Regions from separate parts of the Homo sapiens genome. Here regions 2, 3 and 4 are each linked to region 1. Evidence: promoter capture Hi-C in 16 types of primary human blood cells and fetal thymus (Javierre and others, 2016). All regions are on one chromosome and are shown on one strand. The core of a region is centred on a gene start or on the middle of the fragment in contact, and the rest is flanking DNA. Distances in the headings are between cores, read along the strand shown.

Region 1 (3,646 bases), core at 420-2,919:
TTTTAGTTGAAAATGACTTTCCAACTTTTTTCTTTTTAAGTATGGCAGATTCACAATAGCAGGCCTCAGATTCAGAACAAAAAATCACAGTGCAGTGGTACCAAACTTGAGTGTGCATCAGGGTCACCTGGAGAACTTGTTAGGACAGGGACTGCTGGGCCCCATCCTCAGTTTCTGATGTAGTTGGTCTGAAGAAGGACATGAGAATTTCCATCTCTAACCAGTTTGCAGGTGATGCTGAGGCTGCTGGACCAGGGACCACATTTCAGAACCACTGTGGTGCATAATCTAGATCCTGTGCCGTATGGCTGCATGGTGGCCCTTCAGACCATTCTTCTCCATTTTACATTTTATAATGATGTTTTTTGCTGCTTTTGAGAAAAGAAGAGATTATAAATCAGCTGGGAAACATTTATTTGCCCTAAATATGAAACACATTTCTCAAGACTTATGATCTCTCATGTCTTATTTTGTATTCAACTATAAAGAATCTTGGGAAGACAGTTGTGAAAATGTCTTGGATCCTTTCCTCAAATTTCTAGTGGATTTTATTCAGTTTCCTAAAGTAATGACTGTATATATTTTCTAAATACATAGCTTCAAATTCTTATAAAAGAGTGAATTAATTTCCAGTTACAAAGACATATTTGAATGATTTAATTTCTTATTGGATGTGACATTTCTATTGTCAGAGAAAATGGATCAGGCAATAAATCAAATATATATTTTAATGTTTATATTTCCTTACCACCCTCAAAATGCAGGAGGAACCAAGGAAAGGCAAAGAAAAAAGTGACTAAGCTCTGTGGCAACATGGACAGATGTAAGTCAAAGCAAGACATCCATAAATCTGGAGGGTTCTTTTTGTAGGGGAAAGAATCTACCATTCTGATATGACTGGGTTTAACTCTACATTGTAGTTATTCTTAAACGTACAAGCAAATCTTAAGAAAGCAAGCTGAGGCAAAGAAATAACTCATAAATTTTAGCCAAAATAATATGTTTTCAATTCTAAGTCAGTTCACAGCCAAAGGAATTAGGAAGGGAAACAAGTTCTTAACTTGATGCAGACCACCGCCATCTTGGAAAATGGATTGAGTAGCTAGATCTGGACCCATGACCCCAACCTAGCTGGATCAGGACATGCTTCTTGGTGGTGTTCTAGGCATAATACCTGAGACTGGATTTATTTCAGTTACTTAGAAAATGTTGCTTTAAATTGTCATCTCCTCCTAAACAACTCATGGTGCTATTGTCAGGAGGAAATGAAGTCCGAGAGTTGAAGTCTCGTATTATTAATATAAGCACAACAGTGGTACACATGACAGCCGGGTGTGGGAAGCAGCCTTGGTTTCAGTGGATCTTGGATTACTCCAGAGCAGATAACTAGGATACTTTTAACTGGAAACAGTGTTCTTCCAAATGTTATCACCCATAACTGGAGATAATGAGATTTTATCCCTAGCTAGCAAGAGCCCTCATGACTTCAGTGCAGCCACTGTGCTCACACTCTTGTCAGGACATATCTACCCCATTTTCCTCCTTGATATAATTATTAGGTCCCTTTCTGTACATATAAAAACATCTCCTTGCATGTTTAAAACAAAACTCACTCTGGTAGTGTTAACTTTCCATGCAGAGCAGAACATTTATAAATGTGTGTCTGCAGAAACAAACAAACAAAAACTTCTCGCTGTAAATAGAACAAAAAGAGGAAAAATGTTGTGGAAATTTTACTGCTGCCCGCTATTCTGTTTATATTCAGGCAAGGCAATTTTATGAAATGCGTAGAGTCAGATTCAGGGTTGAGTTTGAATTGACGTGATCTAAATGCTGGCATGGTATCCAAAAGCCAAATCTGTATCATCTAGTTTTGATATCTGGAAATGTTCGCATGATCTTTTTGACACTTAAAGGACATTAATATTACATTGCTGATGTCAGTATTCAGAAAAAATAGGATTACCTAGGCCTTTGGAATCTTCTCACTAAAGGAAGGTATTTTCCAGCTCTTTTAAGTGAATTCTAAATAATATATCTGCAAATCTGAGGACAGTCTGCCTTCCGTTACAGTGCCAGGCCAAGTCTTCTAAAATCCTTAGATTCTGTGGTTAAGGAGAAATTCTCTCCATGACACATTTTAGTTGGCAATATCAAGATAAAAAGATGCCATTTTGTGTACACGGGCCTGTCTGGTAGAAGGACTTACCAGCTGCAAGGTTTATTTGAACTACAGGATGTCTTTTTTTTTTTTTAAAGTCATGTGCTTGTTTTTGTTTTTGTTTGAGATGGAATTTTGCTCTGTCGCCCAGGCTGGAGTGCAGTGGGTGCGATCTCGGCTCACTGCAACCTCCGCCTCCCAAGTTCAAGTGATTCTTCTCTCTCAGCCTCCCAAGTAGCTGGGATTACAGGTGCTTGCCATCACGCCCGGCTATTATTTGTATTTTTAGTAGAGATGGGGTTTTACCATGTTGGCCAGGCTGGTCTCGAACTTCTGACCTCAGGTGATCCACCTGCCTCATCCTCCCAAAGTGTTAGGATTACAGGTGTGAGCCACCATGCTTGGCTATGTACTTCAAGTAGATTGGTACTTGAACTTCAAGTGGATTGGTAGATTCTAGTACCTTCTAGAAAGCATGCTTATTTTATCTGAGTACCGGATAAGGAACTTATTAAAATGGTACACTACAAGTGCCACATAAGTATTAGAAATTATTTATTTCCAGAAACTACTTTGTGCCACTTTAATGTGTAGCTGTGGCTTTAAGAGATCACTCTTAAGGAGTTATTTAATAATTACCACACGATGTACTCTTAACGTAGTTTTAAAAGTGACCTATCTAAGGACTGAGATTAGAGACAGAAATGCAGGGTCTTTTTCATATTTGATGTCTTCAGCATCTCGCACAATGACAAATACTTTGCTGAGATTGGATGTATATTTGCTGATCAAAGAGGTGGATAAATGAGCCAATAAGAACTTTCTGTTTAAGAAGACTGCTTTCTCTCCTAAATAAAATACATCTTTAGTTAATCTTGAAAACACCTATTACTTTAAACCATAATGTGTAGGGAAAGTAGCTGAGTGCTGAGCCAATTAAAGTGGAGGACTGTTGAGTGAGGTTGTTCTCTGTGATGGCCTCCCACAGAGCCAGTGGGGCATTGAGTTGTGTAAGTAACTGACACACAGAACAAGCTCATGACAGTTTTTTTGAAATCACAAAATGGAGGTGTGTTGTCTAGCTTCAGGGACTTCCTGATGACTGCTTAGCACCAAGTGTCTAAGGAGGTGAGGATGAAAAAGGAAATAAGTGGGCCTATCACATCAGCAAGAATCAGTGTGTCGGGGTAGAGGAGACCTGTAGATTGAAGTGTCAACCCTGTCTGTCTGTCTGTCTGTCTGTCTGTCTGTCTCTGTCTCTGTCTGTCTCTGTCTCTACCCCAACCCCTCCCCGCCCTCTGTCATTCTCTCTCATATCAGTATGTGTATAATGGATATCCCAGAAAAGAGATAGAAAAATAAGAGGGTAAATAAATATTTGAAGAAATAGTGGCAACATTTTCCCAAATTTGGGAAGCTTAACAAACTCCAGGTAGGATAAACATAAGATATTAACAACTAAACATGTCATAGTCAAGCCAAGAC
Region 2 (3,646 bases), core at 437-2,936, 670 kb before region 1:
GGGAGCAAACTTTGTTACTCTCCCAGCCCCAGAAAAATACATCCAGGCCATCCAGGCATCTCCTGCACCTGGGTTATTTACTACCCAAACCTCACCCTGAAACAGCTAAGATCAGGTCATGGTTCGGGATGTCGGCCTCTGCCTGGGCTCACCCTGCACTGCACAGGCTTGCTGCCCACAAAGACGCGGTTTATAAGAACAATAGGCACAGGGGTGTCTCAGAGCTACTTGCATACTAGGGCATCCAGGACGAGAACTCCAGCTTTACACTGGATCTAACCCCGGACCCCAAACACACACACTAACCCAGAGCCCAGCCTCTGCAGCCCCTGCCATGTCAGCCAAGCATTTTCAGTTCATTTTCTCCTCGGCAAGCCTGTATTGAATCGCAGGCCTAGAAGTTTTATCCCCGTTTCACAGATTGGCAGGCCAAGACAAGACAAATTCAGTGATTTGCCAAGGGCCAGAGAAGGGAGTCCAAGTCTGCAAGCTTGCAAGGTCGCGTTCATGAGAACTTTCATCCTCCTGGGACCCGGCGGCAGGCACATGGGCCTGGATAGTTACTGAGAAAATTCTTTCAGAAGGGCTTTCGGGGACGTGAAGTCACCCCTGGCTTCCCGGGATTCTGGGTTGGGAGCAGCCGCGCAGGGGCGGTGAAGCCAGGGGCCAGGGCGGTCCGTGCTGCGGGCGGCTCCCCAAGGCCCGGTGCGCTGGGCTACCCGCCCGCTGGCCATGGACTTGCCGCCTGCAGCGCACATGGCTGGGGAGGAAGAGCCGTGGATTTCAGTCTGTACACCCAGACGACTAAGAAGCTGCCGCCCGCTAGCGGGGAGGGGACTCGGCCGGGAGGTGGCCCCCGCAGCCCGGCGCCGCCGCGCGTCCCATCCTCGAGGCCACCGTCGCTCACCGAACATCTGGCACGTGCCATTGGTGCTGGGGTGCTGCGTGAGCGGGCCCTGCCTTCGGGAAGTTTCCATTGGGGAGGAGGCGATCGATCAGACCACAGCAAACGAGCAAGATGACCACAGTGGCCCATGGAGGGGGAATAGGAGCTGTGTGGCGTAGAAACAAGGAAAGCCTCCCGCCCGGTGTGCACGGGGAGCTAGAAAGTGTGACCAGAGTGTTCGGGGCAGGGACAAAACCCAGCTTCTGGTGTCTTCTGCAAGGGGAAGAAGCCTTGCGGTGGGAGCCAGGGGAATCCCCGCGAAGAGGCGGCCCCGCACCTATCCCGGGGCTGGGACGAAGGGTTTGGCTTCTCTAAACGCAGCGGGAAGCTTTAAGCCAGAGCCACACAGAGCATCCCTGTCGCAGGAGAGTGCCCGGGGGTCCCAGGAGGGCGAAAGCACCTTTGGGGCCGAGACACTTCTGCTCCCATCACCCCCGCCCCAGCAGGGCGCCCCTGTGCGGGGAACAGCCAGCAATCAGGGACAGCGCCCCAGGCCCCGCTGCGCCAGCACTGGCAGGAGGGACGCATGGAGGCCGGACGGAACTGGGGAGGGGGTGCTGGCCAGGGTGGGCTCAGGCCCTCCCCACTAAGGCCAGCTCGGCCCAGGGCCTCCCTGCGCAGCCCAGCGCGCCTTGTCGGAGAGGCTCCTAGGACCGGAGGGGAAGCCGCTCTGAACCGGAATGATCTGGTTTGGAGCGGGTTGGCTCCCTCCCTGCTCCCCCGCCCACTGCTCTCCCTCTCCTCCAGCGACGGGCTGGTTTTTGCCGCAGTCCCTGACCAAGGTAAACAGGAGGGAAGAGGAAAGAAGGCTGTTTCCATGGCAACCCAGGGGATAGGCGCTGTGGCTCTCCGGGATATGCGGGGGTGACTTCAGGGAGAAGAAAAGGCTCCCCGGAAAAGCCACAGGGAGGAAGGACCCTCCCATGCACACGGTGGGGTGCGTTCAGAAGTGGGGGGATGGAGGGAAAAGGAGAGGGGTCAGGCACCCTCGGTGAAGTGGAGAATTGAGCAGGGGCCTGGGGACACAGAGACACATAAGGGCCAGGGGTCATACCGAAAATGCAAGCACACAGGCTCTTCTGGCCACTCAACCCAGGGAGCAGAAAACAGAGGTGCCAGAGCTCTCAGAGATTCCGAAATCCACACCTCTCTGGTCCTTTCCAGAAAACCCTTCCAGGGGGCAGCTCAGCCTGGGGACAACCACAGAAGTGGGACCTGGGCCCAAAGACAGGTGTCACCTGAAACAGGCCACTGTTGTCCGCCTGCAGTATGCTGGGAGGACCAGCTCCCGCTCCACCCTGCTCCCCCTGGGAGGAAGGCTGACCCCTGCGTGGGAGTGTGACTGCTGGAAAGGCATCCTTGCTGCAGCTGTGAGTGTGATGGGACAGCAGAGTCACTCCTGCATGGGATTCTAGGGCTGGGGGTCCCAGAGGGGTGGCCTCCGCCCCTCCTGGGGGCCGAGGACTGTCACCATGTCACTACGGCACTCTCCAGCTGCTGACCAAAGCCCTCGCTAACCGCAGCCCTGCCATACTCTGGGTCTTTCCTCTGGAGCAAGGTGAAGAGACTGCAGCGAGGCGTGGAATTGGGAAGCTCTTCTGGTTTTATTAAAAACTCGTTCCACCACAGGAGTCAGCCTGGCCACTCAGGTGTGGGGCGGGTCTCTCCTCATTTAGCTTTCACCTGCGTGCCCAGGGATAGGAGAAAAACGGCACAGAGGGAGGTTGTAGGGAGTAAGCATCCTGCCCTGGCAAAGCTGAGTGAACGTGGGTAGCTTCAGCCCAGTGAAGCAGCAGCAGGGACGCCTGTGGAAACCTGGGTGGAGGTGCCTTCTGACCTTGGTTTGTCTGGGCCAGGGGGCGAATGCTTCTGGCAGTGGAGCTTCCAGGCCCGGAAAACCCAGGCCTCTTCTCCTCACGTGGGCCCTCAGGTGCTTGTGGACTGCCCGGAGACAGAACAGAACTGAGGGTGGGAGGGCCTGCTTTTGCCTGCAGAACACCCTGAAATGTCCCATTTACCCAGCTCTCTCCAGGGCCCGCACAGTCCAAACTTCTCTGGCCTCAACTCCTACCACTGTGCCTTTGCTCACTCTCGACCAGCCACGGTGGCTTCCTTGCTGCTCCTTGAGCGGTCAAGCGTGCTCCCTCTTTCTGGAGGTCTCCTCCTCCAGTATCCACATGGCTGTGTGCCTGGCCTCCTTCAGTTTTTTAATGTGGTCTTCTCAATGAGGCAGAGCCAGGGCTAGGGTGAGGCGAGTGAGGCAGCAAGGGCTTTCCTGCCCTCTCTGGTTAAAACTGTATAGTCTTCCCCTCTGCTCAGGACTCTCCACTCCCTGTCCTCTTCCCAAAGAATGGAACACCATCTTGTTTAGTACACACCTTGTTTATTGCCAGACTTTCTCCATTGGAATGGAAGTGCCATGAGGACTGGAAACGTCTCTGCCTTGTTCTTGTTCTGTCTGTATTCTTTAGAGCCTAGCACATAGTAGATGCTCAGTGTACGCTGTCAGATGGAGGGGTGGATGGGGGGATAAATGGGGCCATGGGGTCAGTAGGCTGTGTCCTTCCCCAGTTCCCCTTCCAACAAGTGGGAAGTGTGCTGCGGCCTTAGAAGAGGCTGGCAGAGTGGCATAACACACTCCTGGTGAAGCACACGATGTGAGGCACAGAGGTTACAACTAAAAAGAAAAACAGACTGGCC
Region 3 (3,646 bases), core at 328-2,827, 540 kb before region 1:
GTTGCCTAGGCTGGAGCGCAGTGGTGCCATCTGGGCTCACTGCAAGCTCTGCCTCCCGGGTTCACACCATTCTCCTGCCTCAGCCTCCTGAGTAGCTGGGACTACAGGCTCCCGCCACCACACCCGGCTAACTTTTTGTATTTTTAGTAGAGACGGAGTTTCACCATGCTAGCCAGGATGGTCTCGATCTCCTGACCTCGTGATCCACCTGCCTTGGCCTCCCAAAGTGCTGGGATTACAGGCGTGAGCCACTGAGCCCAGCCTGAAACTTGATTTTTTCCAGGAAGCTTTTATTGATTCTCCAAGTACATACTTCCAGTTTATTGAACTACTGTTTATTTGATAGGTGCTGGAGACATGAGGATGAATTATGGCCTCTGCCTTTTGGTTTCTGTCTTCTCTCTGACTCCCAGGAGAATGAAAAACCAAGTTAATCCAGTCATTCTTAAAATCAGAAACACTGTGTATATACCTTTCCCCTTAAAGCAGATATTTGAGAATGCAAACCCAGAGATTTAAAGTGTGTGCTGATAAATTTGACACACAAAGGACAGACGAAAATTTCCTTGCTGCTTGTTGTGGTTGAGGCTTTCTAGGCTTAATATAACGTGTATGAACAACTAAAATTAAATAAACTATGGTTTCTAAAAATAAGCAGTTATATTTTCTTCTTAAGCAATGAAGAACAAAGTCAGATTAATGTAGATCTATGTTTATGAACAAGAAAAGATCACCTTTGTTTAAAGAACAGTATACGTGATATGGTCTAATCTTTGTTTAAGAAAAAAACTCGAAAGCAGAGAAAGAAATTTGGAAAGACATATGCCAAATGGTTTTCTTTGGATGGAAGAATTATTGATGGTTAAAGAAAACACTTTCTTTTAATTCACACTTTTTATAACAAGCAACTTCATTGTTGCTTGTTATAGGAAATGTCATCAGAAAGACATTTTCATTTTGGGAAAAAGCACAGAAAGAGGGATATCAATTTGGTGCAAATGCAGATGGATCACTTTCGAGAAAGTGCAAAATTGAATATTAAAAGGCCTTCTGTTTTGTTTTAATGTAGAGTGAGGATTGGAATGGGCCACATCTACAGGGACACTCAGCAGATGTGGACTGAGTGACTGCAGTGTTTCAAGGTAAACATTATAAAAATAAACAAATGAGCAAACTAATGGAATGTGATAGACAGGATGCCTGAGTAATTACTATAAATGCTCTGGCCTTTTTTTTGTGTGTGTGTCAGAGACCCAGAAAAGACTTTAACCTCTAGGTCTATTAATCTGGCTTCTATCACAGGGTAGCTAGTGGCGTTTTATGGTCTCAATCATAACTATATTGCCCTTGGTATGCTCTAGCAATTTTGTTCTCTTTCCATCAAAGTTTGTTATCTTATCCTAGGAATGGAACATGTACACATTGGTGATATCACACAGGTGGATGTCTACAACCTTGAGAATTTCACATGCAGGTGGGAATTTTCCCATGTGGGAATTCACGTGAGTTCTCAGAAGGCCAGCAGATCACCCTCAGCTGCCATCCCTACAAATAAAGTTCAGGAAGGACTCTGAATTCTGGACTCCAGGAAAACCCATGGCCATGAGGTTGATCCTGTTTTTTGGTGCCCTTTTTGGGCATATCTACTGTCTAGAAACATTTGTGGGGTAAGTTATGCTTTCTGGTGCTTCTTTGAATTTTACTTACCTGATTGATGGAGGCTTTGATTGTTACAGAGTAAATGGGTATAAGTGTTCAGTGTTTTCAGAGAAGTTCTCTTAGATTTGGGGATAAGTCAATAGTGTGAAAAAAAGGAGTGGATGATCAAAAAGGAGGTGAATGACATTTAAAGGAAAAGACAAAAGTGAAAACTGAACACACATAACCCTATTTCTCTCTGTCCTTACTCATTTTTCCCTCCAGTGATCAGACTGTAGGGATGATAGACATCAGGGAAAATACAGCTGTGTGGCCATTTGTTCCAGGCAACTCAGCGGGTGTCAATGCTACTCTCCCACCTCCTCCTGCTCTTCTGGGCTTTACCATCCACGTTAGCCCTTGTGCCCTAACCCCCGATCTTTAGATTCAGCACCTAGGTGGTGGAACCTCATGAAGTAGAAAGGCCAGGGCTATAGATTTCAGCTCAACTCCTCCTCTCCTGGCTTTGGAGGACTCATCTTTGCTCCAAAGTACTTTGCTTCATGATTCTATGAAGGGTTTCAGGCAGCATTTTTTGAAGAGTGGTCCAGGGAGCTAAGAAAGCAATCAAATAAGTTTGGTCCCAAAAAGCCACTGGTCAAATAAATGTGGGAATCAGAGGATTAAACAAACTATAGGATTTCTAGGAGCCTTGGCTAAATCAGTGTGCATTATAAATCTATAAGAGGGGATCTAGGTTGCAGCATGTACTCTTTTTTTTAATCATAAACTACCTACTGCTCCCAGCTTGCCCTTTCTTTCTTTCTCTTTCTCTTTCTTTCTTTCTTTCTCTTTCTTTCTTTCTTTCTTTCTTTCTTTCTTTCTTTCTTTCTTTCTTTCTTTCTTTCTTTCACTGAGTAACTCAAAGAACTACTATTCTTTAGAACACACACCAGGAAATATGACCCTGTTGTATTACTTTTCTCAGTGCCTTCCCATTTTAAAGGAGGACTCCTGGGAGTCCATGCATTAACCGAAAATAATGAGACTTAAATGGAAGAATTTTCAGACCATTTGTGGCAGGTGAGCCTCGAAGAGCTCACATTCCATCACTTCTGTATTCCACTGGAGTTCGTAGGAAATTGCATGGAGCTTGGTTTCAGAAGACCCATATTCTGGTCCCTGTACATGGCTCATTGTATTGATTCCTTCCCCACTGCACAAACAGTTGGGGCAGTGACTTAGGAAGTCTGCCTACGTGGAGAAAGGCTAGAAGGGGAAACTCTGTCACCAAGGGAACTCTTCCTAAAGAGATGTGCTTGATTGTTTTGAGATTTCTCTTTCCTGTTCATCCTTCATTCCCTATTAAGGGGGTGTGTGTGTGTGTGTGTGTGTGTGTGTGTGTGTGTGTGTTTGTAAAGAGAGGCACGGCACATAATTTGTCAGGGTCCCAACTATCTCTGGCCATGCCCCATGTTTGGGCCCCATGAATGGGGTCTGGGGATGGAACCTTGATACATTTTCAGTTGACAAAATCAAAGAACAAACAAAACCCCCAAAACCATTAAAAACAAAATCTTAGGACTACCCACATATGAATTGTTTCCTCTTACAAGCACCAAATTATTCCACTTTTTAAAAACTTACTTCTGAACAACAGGAACAGGCAAGTATTAAAAGCTATAACACTCCACAAGCAGCAGGTTTTATTTGACTCATTAGCTATGGGAAAGGTAACTTTAATGGCAGGCTTCCTGCTAGGAGCAGGTACACCTATTCATTATTATTTAGATAACATTTCCTGGGAGGAAATAACGCCATTCTATCACCTTCTCATTCTGGCGATGTGGGTTTAGTATACTATTTATTAGTTTCTGGATTGTCACAGAGATTATTGACTGTTGCATTAATCTGTTATACGCAGAGACTAACAGGTGCAGAAAGCAACAGGAAACAGTGTCCAGGTTTTGCTTTTAAGGTCATATTTGTGGTTAATTTTCTTTAGAGA
Region 4 (3,646 bases), core at 1,147-3,646, 510 kb before region 1:
TGTGTCACTGCTTCATCGTAAGAGTGTAGCATTTTAGGGCTAGCAATGGACTTTCAAGTTCATGTATTCAATAAATACTCATGAAGCAACTGCACTGTGCCAGGCCTCGTGCCAGGTGCTATACCTGGTTCCATTGTTGCCTTTGGTTTTTCCTTTCCTGGTGTGCTGCTTTATGAAGACTTGTGGGGCAGGGCATGGTGACTCAGGCCCGTGATCTCAGCACTTTGGAAGGCTGAGGTGGGAGGATCAGGAGTTTGAGATCAGCCTGAGCAACACAGTGAGACCCCGTCTGTACAAAAACAAAACAAAGCACCCGTCATGGTGGCAAACATCTTTAGTCTCAGCTGCTTGGGAGGCTAAGTTGGGAGGATCACTCGAGCCCAAGAGTTTGAGACTTCAGTGAGCTATGGTCGCACCACTGTACTCCAGCCTGGTCGACAGAGTGAAACTCTGTCTCAAAAAAAACAAACACACAAATGGTGGGGACCCAAGCCAATGACATTCCTTTTTCCTGGTTGCCCTATCAAGCCTCGGTCTCAGGTTGCACACAGTTTCTCTTTAGATATTGACTCCCATTAGGGATTTAGGTTTTCTTCATGTGGATGATTTTCCCTGGGAGAAAAGGTAGGAACTAAATTTCAGCTTGCCTAGAATGCTTGGTCCTTGATTCTCCCACTTCACATCTCTTACAGATTTGGGTCTCAGTTGTTCTTGTTGCTGACTTCAAAGCTGACATCGATCTCAGTGACGCTGAGCCCACGCTTTGTGGTGGACAGGGTGGGTGTAGGAATTCAGTTGAAGTGTTGAGAGGACAAAAGGACCCTGAGGGAGCAAGAGGAGATGATGGCCCCTAGCTCCACAGCTCCTAACAAAGGCTCTCTCTGGGACCACACTTGAGATTCTGCACCCTCCTTTTGATTAGGCTGGTTCTTGAGCCCTGGCTAAGCCAGCCTGAGCAAAGATCCTGCGAAGTCATCCCTCCCACCTTGATATCTGATCAAGTTCCTCATCCCCACCTTTGATGGGGACTTTGATGTATAAGTCCTTGGCCTGCTTTTAGCAAGAATCCCCCTACCTTGATGTCTTCTCTTAGTAATCCCACTGATCCTCTCTGTTTTCTTTGCCGTATTCAGTGTTAAGCACAGTAAGTCTTTCCTACTGAAATAGCCATGGTCCTAATCATAATAATCTTGAATTAGGTCTTACATTTTAACACAGGTCAGGATAGTTTTTCTTTAACTCTCTCAACTATGACCCTTGGTTGTGTCCACTCCCTTTGAGTGGGTGTGGAAAGCATGTAGACCGTAGGGAGGGTGGGATGGGAAAGGCTGTGGGAACTGGGGCTCCCAGGACAGACTCAAAGGTCCCAGAGCCCCTGAAGGCGTTATGGAGATATGAGTGTCTTCCATTTATTCAGCTGTGACTTGGCGGAAAGGACACCAGACCCACAGTCTAGGAAGTATAAGAAAATCTTATTATTTATTTATTTATTTATTTGAGATGGAGTCTCACTCTGTCGCCCAGGCTGGAGTGCAGTGGTGCGATCTCGGCTCACTGCAAGCTCCGCCTCCCAGGTTCACGCCATTCTCCTGAGTAGCTGGGACTACAGGCGTCCGCCACCACGCCCGGCTAATTTTTTGTATTTTTAGTAGAGACGAGGTTTCACTGTGATAGCCAGGATGGTCTCAATCTCCTGACCTCGTGATCCGCCCACCTCGGCCTCCCAAAGTGCTAGGATTACAGGCATGAGCCACCTCGCCCGGCTGAAAATCTTATTATTGATAAAACCATTAAGCCTTCCCCATAGATCAGACCCCAAGGAACACTGATAATTTATTCAGACTAAAACATCCTTTCTATATCATTTGCCTGATACATTTCTATTTCCTTAGTGGAGTCAGAAGAATTAGGCTTCAGATACATAAAAGAGGCCCCAAACCTCTTTCCTCATCCTGACCTGCCCTGGTGAAATTCTCTGGCAGGGCTTGTCAAGCATGTGGTCTTGGAGCCAGCTCAGTCTTGCTTTGATAGTCTTAACTTTTTTATTATTATTCTAGAGGTAATTCTATGCCAGGTTTATAATCTGACCTCTCCTATCAGGATAAATTCCATCCAACACTGTGGAATTAGCTTATTCACTGAAAAAACACTATTTAAATGCCAAGTGATGAGCAATATGGTACCCTTGGCACAGACTTTTTCAGCTCCTGGAGCAAGTTCCTGACCTTGTAAATTGAGATGCTCAACCTTTATCACTTGAAAGGAATGGGAGAGGCATTGGTAGGGCCTGCCTGTCACAGTCAGAGTTGCAAGGGTGCTTGGGAATCACATTAGCATTTTTGAGGACTTGAGTCACTCTCAGACTCTTTATAAATACAGCTTGACTCAGCCACTGTATGACTGACTCCCCGGGGACATGAGGTGGATACTGTTCATTGGGGCCCTTATTGGGTCCAGCATCTGTGGCCAAGAAAAATTTTTTGGGTAAGTTCCTTTTGGACTTATTATTTGGTTATTTCAGAAATATGGGAGCCAAATGGAACTGAAAATGAATGGCTGATAATAGCTCACATGGAGGAAGAAGACCTGGGCTCTTGTTCCAGCTTTGCCCCTGTGTCATCCTGGACAAGTCCACTCTCTTCTCTGAGACCCCATTTCATCTGTGAAATCAGGACTAGATGATCATTGCAGTCTCTCCCCAGCTCCCTCATCTCCTGCCAGTTCTTTTTCTGCCTAGTTCTTACTTATAAGGTCAGTTCCAGGCATCTACTTTCTTACTCCTACCTTATTAATTACTAAGAGTTACTGGTTACTAAGAGCTACGTTATTAATTACTAAGAGTTACTGGTTACCAGAAATGGTTTGTTTCCAATTTCCGCCATGCATAAAGGGAAACCCTGGGTCTCAAGCTTGTTGGTTTCACTTCTTTGTTAATGGCGAAGGCTTTGCAGAGCTGGTGCCTTCTCTTGATCTGCAGTTTAATGCTCTACCCCTGAGCTACACCCTCTTCTGAGCTGGTGCTTTCTTACTGGCTTCTGGGACGTGGAGATTTCACAGGTCTTGCCTAGACACAGCTATGAAAATGACATGCAGAGACACATGCCTGAACACCGTGTGTGTGTGCGCGTGTGTGTGTGCACACACACACGTGCTCAACACGCTCCATGCAGAATACTTTGAGGTTTGCAGGGGAGAGGACATTTGGGTGGTAGGAGAGATAAAAGGGATACCATGGTGCCCTGTTAGAAGACTGAATTATAATAACTCATTACTGCATAATACTTTACCATTTGCAAAGAGCTTTCATGTACATTATCTTTTTGATCACACAACAACTTTGCCAGGCAGGGGTGTTATTTTCTTCCACTTAAACATGAAAAAAATCAGCCTTAGAATGTTAAGGAACGCGCTCAAGGCCACTTAGCTGGGAAGCAGGGGAGCTGGAACTCTGAACGTAAAACTCGTACCCTTTTGCTATAACACAAGTTCATCTCCAAATAAAATCCTATATCTCTTGGATCTGTCTCTTAGTTTTCTTTCTATTTTACTATCTGGCTAATGAGACTTTGGGGTTGTTTTTTGAGGTAATTACTTATATGAGATTGACTAAGTTTTATGATGATGACTTCTGTTCACACCTGTGTCT

The links. The method cuts DNA at HindIII sites, captures the fragments that hold promoters and counts their contacts. A CHiCAGO score of 5 or more calls a contact.
Region 2: the fragment with the promoter of LINC03008 here is called in contact with a fragment that was not itself captured in region 1 in 1 of 17 cell types (endothelial precursors); the score reaches 5.8 in endothelial precursors.
Region 3: the fragment with the promoter of CPA2 here is called in contact with a fragment that was not itself captured in region 1 in 6 of 17 cell types (M1 macrophages, M0 macrophages, endothelial precursors and 3 more); the score reaches 7.5 in M1 macrophages.
Region 4: the fragment with the promoter of CPA4 here is called in contact with a fragment that was not itself captured in region 1 in 6 of 17 cell types (erythroblasts, M1 macrophages, total B cells and 3 more); the score reaches 7.6 in erythroblasts.

What each region holds. Positions count from the first base shown.
Region 1 is chr7:130,806,351-130,809,996 of GRCh38, forward strand. The region is part of intron 3 of LOC105375508 (a long non-coding RNA gene); the gene reads left to right. All of the region lies in intron 2 of LOC105375509 (a long non-coding RNA gene), which reads right to left. Among named protein-coding and RNA genes, the nearest start is that of MIR29A, 69 kb to the right of the region's middle. The HindIII fragment of the contact is 3,814 bases long and covers 1-3,576 here.
Region 2 is chr7:130,140,045-130,143,690 of GRCh38, forward strand. LINC03008 (long intergenic non-protein coding RNA 3008) reads left to right here and starts at 1,687. Exons shown (of 2, transcript NR_149034.1): 1 at 1,687-1,728; 2 at 2,215-2,574. RefSeq lists enhancers at 921-1,584, 997-1,076, 1,257-1,396, 1,585-2,248. The HindIII fragment of the contact is 6,567 bases long and covers 1,273-3,646 here.
Region 3 is chr7:130,265,286-130,268,931 of GRCh38, forward strand. CPA2 (carboxypeptidase A2) reads left to right here and starts at 1,578. Exons shown (of 11, transcript NM_001869.3): 1 at 1,578-1,667; 2 at 3,644-3,646. The coding sequence starts at 1,597. The HindIII fragment of the contact is 5,023 bases long and covers 286-3,646 here.
Region 4 is chr7:130,290,765-130,294,410 of GRCh38, forward strand. CPA4 (carboxypeptidase A4) reads left to right here and starts at 2,397. Exons shown (of 11, transcript NM_016352.4): 1 at 2,397-2,484. The coding sequence starts at 2,417. RefSeq lists an enhancer at 2,802-2,891. The HindIII fragment of the contact is 9,413 bases long and covers 1-2,907 here.